Linked DNA regions of Homo sapiens: region 2 is linked to region 1. The links are contacts of gene promoters, found by promoter capture Hi-C in human tissues and cell types (Jung and others, 2019). All regions are on one chromosome and are shown on one strand. The core of a region is centred on a gene start or on the middle of the fragment in contact, and the rest is flanking DNA. Distances in the headings are between cores, read along the strand shown.

Region 1 (4,392 bases), core at 1,408-3,907:
CTTTGGTAGCCACAGACCCTCTCGTTTCAGGCAATATTATTTCTTATCGGCAAAAAGAGGATGCTCACTCTTGCTCCAGGCCAGTGAAAAATAGTGTCAAAAAATTTGAAAACTATGTTTGTTCATTCAGCAATCACTTCTTTACTGCATGTTGGGCTTTGGGATGTACAATACAAACTCAGTCCTGACCTTCTAAGGGGCTCACAGCATAGCAGGGAAAGCAGGCATTCGACTGATAAATACATCAATAATCATTTGGCTTTAGTTTTGTAAGTGCTGTGAGTTAAAACTCCAGGGTGCAAGGAGGGCACAAAACTAGAATGGGGTGGGAATTTCCTGAAAATAGCTTTTAAAGGTAAGGCTTGAAAACAGTGTAGCGGGTTTGAAATGGAAGTAGGGTGCGGTGAGTGAGGCACCCGGGGCACACAATTTAAGGAGATGTTCACTCCCGGCTGCTGACCCTGCAATTGCACACCCTCGAGTGTGAGTGGCTGAGCAGCCAGGCTGAGGGGAACTAGATCAGGGATCCGAAGAGTGTGTGGCCCTGCTTCCAACTGCTGCCCTGCACAAATGTTTGCTTTCCAGGAAACTCTCCAGGCTCTGGGAGGAGCAATGGCCTATAGGAAAAGGGACCTAAATCACCAAACTAAAACTAACAAGCTGCCTTGCTCCCTGGATGCTGGTAACCAAGGCTCCCTCCTCAGTGGTCAGCCATGGTGACAGTAAGGGAGCAGGGGGTGTGGAGGATGGGCCAGCATCTCCCTGGGCACAGCTCTGCCCATCACCTACACTTCTCAGCTTACCTCCTGGGGCTGGGGCTGCCCTGGCAGGGTAAATTGCAGTCAGCACAGTATTCTGGCTCTCAGGCACTGGACCTGTTTCCTTAGTCTAGTGGCCCAAGGCAGGTGGCATGGAGTGGTGGGTCAGGCAGACTGGAGCTCACATGCCTGCATTCAAATCCTGACTTTGTTACCTACTAGCAGCGTGACTGGGAAAGCAACTTCACCTTGTTTTCATACCTATAGAATAAGCATGATGATACTACTAGCACCCATCTTGCAGAGCTGTGAGGACTTTCCAGGACTTTATGAGTTAATACATTAAAAGCTTGTAAAGTAAATCCAGACGCATGGGAAGAGCCCCCTAAATGTAAACTGCAATTGTTATTTTGATCCAAACTAAAAGCAAACACTAACAATAACCCTAAAATCAAAATGTAGTGGAGTCAGAGTGTTAGAACTGGCAAATGTCTGCTCTAACCTCCCTTCTGTGTTATAGAAATAAAGCCATTTGACCTAAAGACAGAAGAACTAGAACCCAGGACGGAGAAGAGAATGAACAAGCAAGAGTCCTCACTTTCTGCTTTCTAGGACAATGATTCTCACCTGAAGGGCTTGTTCATACAGACCACTGGACCCCACCCAGAGTTTCTTGTTTGGCAGGTCTGGGATGGGGTCTGAGAATCTGCATTTCTGAGAACCCACCAGTGCCCAGGGGCTGCTGACGCTGCTGGCCCAGGTACTGCATCTTGAAAAGCACTTGCTCTAAGTCAGGAGAGGCAGGCTACGGAAAGTTTGCATTCCCGAGTTTGCTACCACCCGATCATGCCCTGGGATCAGGGAAGGGAAAACAAGGGCCTTACTTACAGTGGGTGCCGCACCTCGGGCAGAGCCCTCTGGAGGGGGATGCGGGCACTGAGTGCCTCCTGGAGGCCACGTGGGTCCAGGCTGAACGGGGTCAACTCCTCTTCTTCAGACACCTCCCCGTCCTCATCAGCCCCCCAGTCCCTCTTTGGGGCTTCCTTATCCTGCCTCCTTGGCTGCTTGATGAGGCGGTAGCTCCCACCTCTCCTGCCCTGGCTCTGGTTCCTTCTGGCCTGGGGTAAGGCCACGGCCACCAGCAGCTGATCCTCCCGCAGTGAGATAAAGGGTGGCAGGCCCTCCAGAGGGCTGTACTCTTCACCCTCATCCTCAGCTTCCAGTACCCAATCCTGGGATTCCCCAAAGTCCAGGCGGTACCTGGCTTCAGGGCTGTGCTTGCTGGCTTGGGCTGTGACAGTCTGGTGCAGGGTGTGGTGGGGAGGGTGCAACATCGCCACCATCATCAGGACGCATCCCAGCATCAGGAGCAGCAGGAGGAACTGGAGTCTGCATGGTCTGTGCCTGTATCGCTTCCTTAGGAGCATGTTGCTAGAACTTGCCAAATGCAACAGGTCATGTTCAAGTTAGCTTTCTCCCGCTCCAGGCTCCTTCAAGCTTGCAGCAGAACCTGGGTTGCTTGTTCCACCTGGAAGTTTTTCTGCCAGTCACTTAACCTGGTCCTGACATTTGCCAACAGCGTGTGCAAGACCTGCTTCCACTTACAATCAGAAAACCACAGGACCCAAGTTTCACCCCAAGTCCTCTCTGAGTGGATTTCTTTAATTGCCTTCTGAAAGCCCATTCACAGGGACTTCAAATTGAATTGCTTCCCTCCCTTTACCCCGGTTTTCTCCTTGGGAAAAAAATAATGATTCCATTCTGCTCAGGTGTTTCTTTCCCCCTTTGTATAAATAGGTTGCTATGAGGTGTCTGGGATGAGCTGGTGGGTTCTCAGTCAAGCAGGGCTGACAGCCGTCCCTCTTTGGACGCTTCCAGTCAGGTCAGATCAACAGATGTAAAGCCGGCAGGCAGTGCCTGGTTTCCTTTCACACATAGCTCCACTCAGCCGAGAGCCCTCTGCCAGACACAACCCAGAGCCAAGCGTGCGCGTCACTCCTGGTCCTAATGCCCTCACTGTTCCCAGGCTTTGCACAACTCGGTGTGGTCACTGCTAGAGCCAAATCAAAACAGGAATATCCCAAGAGTTCAGAAGGAAAGACTAATACCCTCTGATTCAGAAAGGCTGTGTGTGTGGCATAGCTGCAAGGAGCTGCAGCTGTCTGTTTGCAACCTCAGCCTCCCATGGGGGATCAGGCAAACTAGGTTGGACTCTCCTTCCCTTCCTGGGGACCACTGTCCCTGGCCTCCTGAAAATGAGGGAGCTAAGGGAGATGATCTTGCAAGTCCCTTCTTCTCCCACAAGAGCAGCTGAATGCCTGCTCTGCCCTGGCCACCAAGGGGGACGCTGGAAGAGGAGTGGCATGCTCTTTCCCTCATAAAGCTTCCTTCATTTAACCAACACATAATTAATGAACACATGCTATGTGCCAAAATTGTTCTGGGAACTGGAAGTAGAGCAATGAATAACACAGACAAAAATGTGTGTCTCATGGAGCTTGCATTCTAGTGACAGATACAATTAAAACTATCCACTGGGTCAGATAGTGATGAGGATGAAGGCAAAAAAGCAGAGCAGGGATGGGGCTGGGGAGCATGGGCTGGGCTTGGAAATGGACATTGAGTGGTGGAGAAAGGTTTCATGGAAGAGTTACCATTTGTGTAAAGGAGAGGGCTGCACAGCTATTTGAGGTTGAGTGTTCGGGGCAGACAGAATGATAAATGTGAAGGTTCCAAGGCAAGAGTATGCTGGCATGTCTGAGGAACAGCCGGCATGGCTGAAGCAAAGAGAGCAGGGTGGAGCCTGATGGGAAGTGGAATAAGAGAGGCAAGGGGGCGGGGGGCAGGAGGACCATGCAGGACACCCCCTGGTTGCATTGAAGGAACTTTGGCTTTTCCTCTGAGTGAGAGGGGAGCCCTTAGAGGAGAGACACAATCTGACTTGGGTTTTAACTGGATCATTCTGGCTGCTGGGTTGAGACTAATCAGTGGGGGGCAAAAAGCAGGAGCAGGGAGACCAACCAAGAGGTTCTTGGCTTGCACTAAGTGGCATCGGTGGTGACAGGGGTCAGCTTGTGGATATACTTTAAGGAAGAACCTATAGGATTTGCTGATGAATTAATGACTAATGTGAGAGGAAGAGAAGAGTCAAGATGAGTTCAAATTTTTGTTCTGAGTAGTTGGAAGAATAGACTTGCCATTAACCAAGATGGGGAAGGAGAGAAGGTGGAAGGAGATGAATGCATGCCAGTGGCTTGATTTGGAACATGTGACATTCGAGATGTCCTCTAGACAGCTAAGAGGAGATGAAGTGAAGGCAGCAGTTGTAGGATAGCTGAAGGTCAGGGGGAGGTCTGGCCTGCATATACAAAGCTGGACTCCAGCAGCACTCAGATAGTGTTTGAAGCCGTGAGACCTGAGATCACTGAGGGAGTGAGGTAGGTAGAAGGGAGAAGAGAATCCAGCATGCTCAGTTTTCAGGCTTCTGGCTTGAACAGGTTGAAGGATAGCTGACCATCACCATGAGCAGTGTTTCTTCTGATGGCTGTAAAGCAGCCATGCTGTCTGCAACCAAGAGTGGAGGGGGGAAAACTGCCATTGGGGAAGTCCTGCAATGAACTTGCTCATTGTTTTT
Region 2 (4,392 bases), core at 1,254-3,753, 520 kb after region 1:
TCACTCTGTCACCTCAGGCTGGAGTGCAGTGGCGCAATCTTGGCTCAATGCAACCTCCACCTCCCCGGTTCAAGCGATTCTCCTGCATCAGCCTCCCGAGGAGCTGGGATTATAGGTGTGCACCACCATGCCCAGCTAACTTTCGTATTTTTAGTAGAGATGGGTTTTCACCACGTTGGCCAGGCTGGTCTCCAACTCCTGACCTCAAGTGATCCGCCCACCTCGGCCTCCCAAAGTGCTGGGATTACAGGGGTGAGCCACCACGCCCGGCCCCCTCCAACTGTTTTGTCAACCTGTTATATCTTGGGTTTCTGGTACTCTTTTTTTTTTTTCAGTGTTGCTTGAAGACTTTTATATTGTTTGCAAGATTCATGCCTAGAGAAACTGACAAAGATTCCTGTGGAAGGTGCCCTCGAACAGTCCATCACTCACCCATAGGCACAATCTTCTGAGCCCACAGCAAAAAAGCAGCTGGGACCATCCCCACCCAAGAAGGGTGCTTACCTGGAATATGGAAAGGCTACTTACTTGCATAGTGCTTGTAATGTGCCTTACCATTGCTGTAATAATTACATGAAGTTATGATAATAAATAGCCTAATTAGCTCATTAATTTCCCATGTACAAACTGCTTATGTTCAAAACCTAGCTCACATACAGCTCTGGGGGGCATTGAGCCAGTTGTTCAGCCTCTCTGTGTCTCAGTTTCTTCATCTGTAAAATGGGATTAATAAAGATATCTATCTTACAGAGTTATTGGAAAGATTCAAGGAGCTACTATGCCTGCTAAGCACTCAATAAATAAAAACTGACATCAGTACAGCAGCCTACTTTGAGGTAGACTTTAAATAGCCACAAATTCTTTTACACTCCTCCCACTGATGAGTGGGCTCTGTATTTCCTCTCCTTGAATCTAGAAGGGTGCTGTAGCAACTTTACTGATAGAATATGGCAGAAGTGCCACTGTGCCTGTTTCTGGCCACAGCTTTAAGAAATTGGCAGCTTCCTCTTCCTGTCTCTTATAATACCCTGTCTGGGAAACCTGAGATGTCTTGTTAGAAGTCTGACTATCCTCAGACCAGCATGCTGAAAGACCACATGGAGAGGCCCAGAGGAGCCTTCCAGCTGCCCTGTCAATGTGCCAGGGACCTGAGTGGAGAAACTACCCTGGAAGTGGGTTCTCCATCCCCCACCACTCCGGCCAGAAAGAGGTGGGCTGCATAACTGAGTCCTTCCCAAATTCATGAGCAAAATAAAATGGCTGTTCAAGCCATTACGTTTCATAGTTGAAACTTAGAAACTAAGTGGAACTTAGTGAAACTTAAGTTAGTGGAACTTAATGAAATGAAGTGACACTTATGCACTTAGCAATAGATAATCACAACACTGATTAAGAAAATCTAAACATATTAAACAAATGAATGAGTTGGGAGGGGGTGGCTAGCCTCCAGCCCGGAGGGAGAGGATTCATATTACAAATTGAGTCTTTGTTTTTGTTTTATAAAATATTCTATGTTGGATATAAAAATGCTCTAGGAATAAGTGCTCAGTGCCGCAAAGTAAAACCAGCACCCAGGCAAAAGTTTTCTCAGCAAGGCAATTTACTTCTGCAGAAGGGTGCCACTTGAGTCAATCAAGATTGCAAGAGCACAAAGAACAAAGGAGACCAGGCAGTTTTTATATCCTTAATGCAATCCCTACCTCTGTGTCCCTCCCGCATGAGCTGGGGTCAGACTGCGCAATCTGAGCTGACCTGACTGGCTACTTGGAAATATTTTTCTAAATATGGAGGGGAAGGGGACGTGAGGTACAGTGGTGAAGTGTGTGAGACATGCAGTTTGAGGGGAACAATGGGTGCAGGTAACCAAGGCAACAGATGTGAGGTATTGATTAGAACTGATGGGAAGGGGGTAGGCTATTTTACAATAACTAGGGGCAAGGAGGAACAGAAAAGTTGAGGTTTGAAAACAAAGGTCAAGGAAGTTAGCAGGCTAAATCTTTAAAGAGAAACTCAGAGAAATTCATTGTATCTTACATCTATAATAATAACAAAGTAGGCTGGGTGCAGTGGCTCATGCCTGTAATCCCAGCACTTTGGGAGGCCGAGGTGGGTGGATCACTTGAGGTCAGGAGTTTGAGACCAGCCTGGCCAACATGGTGAAACCTTGTCTCTACTAAAAATACAAAAATTAGCCAGACATGGTGGCAGGAGCCTGTAATCCCAGCTACATGGGAGGCTGAGGCAGGAGAATTGCTTGAACCCGGGACGCAGAGGTTGCAGTGAGCCGAGATCATGCCACTGCACTCCAGCCTGGGCAACAGAGTGAGACTCTGTCTCAAAAACAAAACAAAGTAAAAACAACAAAGTATTCTCTGTCATACATGAATACTGTTTCGTTTCTTATTTACTATTAGAAAAAGCATAATTTACAACTAGAAAACAATGAGAGTCTCCAAGGATATTTGAGCTGAAATCATCTCATGTAGTCCCCTCTTTTACAGAGAGAGGACCTTAGGCCTTGAGAGGCACAGGTACATGGCTGAGGTCACACAACAATTTAAAAGCAAGCCAGGCCTGGTCTCTGGGCTCCCAAGCCAGCGCATTCAAAATCTGGGTTTATTTTTTCACTTCTTATTTTTTATGTAAATTTGTAGGAATAAATCTGTTTTGTGACATATGTCCCTTTTACTATTCAATATACACTGCACCAAGGAAAGATCTGAAACAATTTTCAGGGGCCAGTAGAACACAAGGGCCACATTTTGTGGTATTAATTGCAAAACAATGAAGTTCTTCACCCTTTTCAGATTCATTTATAAATGCCAAAATACTGGCTTTTATTATAAGTATCTTTATATTCCATCAACCTAATAATTTTCCTTACATACGTCAAACTCCCAGCATGCTTCAACCCCTAATATGCAGCAATTTAGAGGATATGCACATTATAATTCAGAGGACACAGCCTTCTTTGTTCCTCTAATAGTTACTAAACAATTTGGATTGCAACCATTCTTTGAAGATGTGCGTGTTTACTGAAAACAAAGCCTTTCTGTTGTGCATGAATGTAGGGGCTTTTCCTCCTGTGGCTTTGACGTGTCTGATGTCTTTTAAAAACTGATGCAGGCCGGGCGCGGTGGCTCATGCCTATAATCCCAGCACTTTGGGAGGCCAAGGCGGGCAGATCATCTGAGGTCAGTAGTTTGAGACCAGCCTGACCAACATGAAGAAACCCCGTCTCTACTAAAATACAAAATTAGCCGGGTATGGTGGCGCATGCCTGTAATCCCAGCTACATGGGAGGCTGAGGCAGGAGAATTGCTTGAACCCGGGACGCAGAGGTTGCAGTGAGCCAAGATCATGCCATTGTACTCCAGCTTGGGCAACAAGTGCAAAATTCCATCTAAAAAAAAAAAAAATTAGCCAAGTGTGGTGGCAGATGCCTGTAATCCCAGTTATTCAGGAGGCTGAGGAAGGAGAATCGCTTGAACCCGGGAGGCAGAGGGTGCAGTGAGCCAAGATTGCCACAGAGTGAGACTTCATCTCAAAAACAAAAAAAAGGATGCAGGACTATATTAGAAAATGTTAAGCTTAACATGAATAATTCCAAAGAAATGTTTTGGTTTTTGTCCCTTAAACTGCTATTATAGATTTTTTAATTGTTATTTTTCCCTTAAATAGCTATTTATTACATTCCCCTCAGTGAGTCCTCATGGCTTGGATATGAGGTGTGACTGACTTAGGAGGAGGTGAAGCATCTGAAAACCTGTCATCAGCCAGAAGAATCATTTTAAATGACCATGTTATTCCCCTGCCTAATCCCCTGCAATGCTGTCTGCCCACATAAACCCTAACTCTTCCCCCAGCCTGCAGAGCCTGCAGAACCAGCCAATGCCCTCTCCCCTGACTCCATGCTCCTTCCCTCCCCTTCACTTGCCCCAGTGCCCAATGTTGCCTTACTGGCCTTTTACATTTTTAAACTTGTTAGTTCTTCAAATACTGTTGTAGCCATTTGGAAAAATAAAATCTGCACAAATATCTTTTAGCAATTTGTTTTGGGGGTTGTGTGTGTATTTAAATCCCATGTTTATATGAACACTAGGTGATAATAAGCTCTCGCTAAAGGTAACAGTCTTGGCCGGGCGCAGTGGCTCACGCCTGTAATCCCAACACTTTGGGAGGCCAAAGCAGGCAGATCACTTGAGATTCAGCCTGGCCAATATGGAGAAACCCTGTCTCTATTTTAAAAAATAAATTTTAAAAAACAGTAACAGTCTTATGTGACTTTGCATCCTCCACAATTTCTAGCACAGTATTTTACACGGAACTAATGCTTAACTTTCACACGTGATTTTTTGAGAGTTGCAAGACATCCATAGTCGGATCAACAAT

The links. The method cuts DNA at HindIII sites, captures the fragments that hold promoters and counts their contacts. A contact is called where the count stands out against the background at its distance.
Region 2: a contact is called between a fragment that was not itself captured here and the fragment with the promoter of GALNT15 in region 1, in 2 of the 25 tissues and cell types used here (adrenal gland and liver).

The regions. Positions count from the first base shown.
Region 1 is chr3:16,172,945-16,177,336 of GRCh38, reverse strand. It overlaps GALNT15 (polypeptide N-acetylgalactosaminyltransferase 15), which reads right to left and starts at 2,657. Exons shown (of 10, transcript NM_054110.5): 1 at 1,647-2,657. The coding sequence starts at 2,185. The HindIII fragment of the contact is 4,561 bases long and covers 1,682-4,392 here.
Region 2 is chr3:15,653,766-15,658,157 of GRCh38, reverse strand. It overlaps a transcript of BTD not described here. Among named protein-coding and RNA genes, the nearest start is that of MIR3134, 41 kb to the left of the region's middle. The HindIII fragment of the contact is 7,925 bases long and covers 1-4,392 here.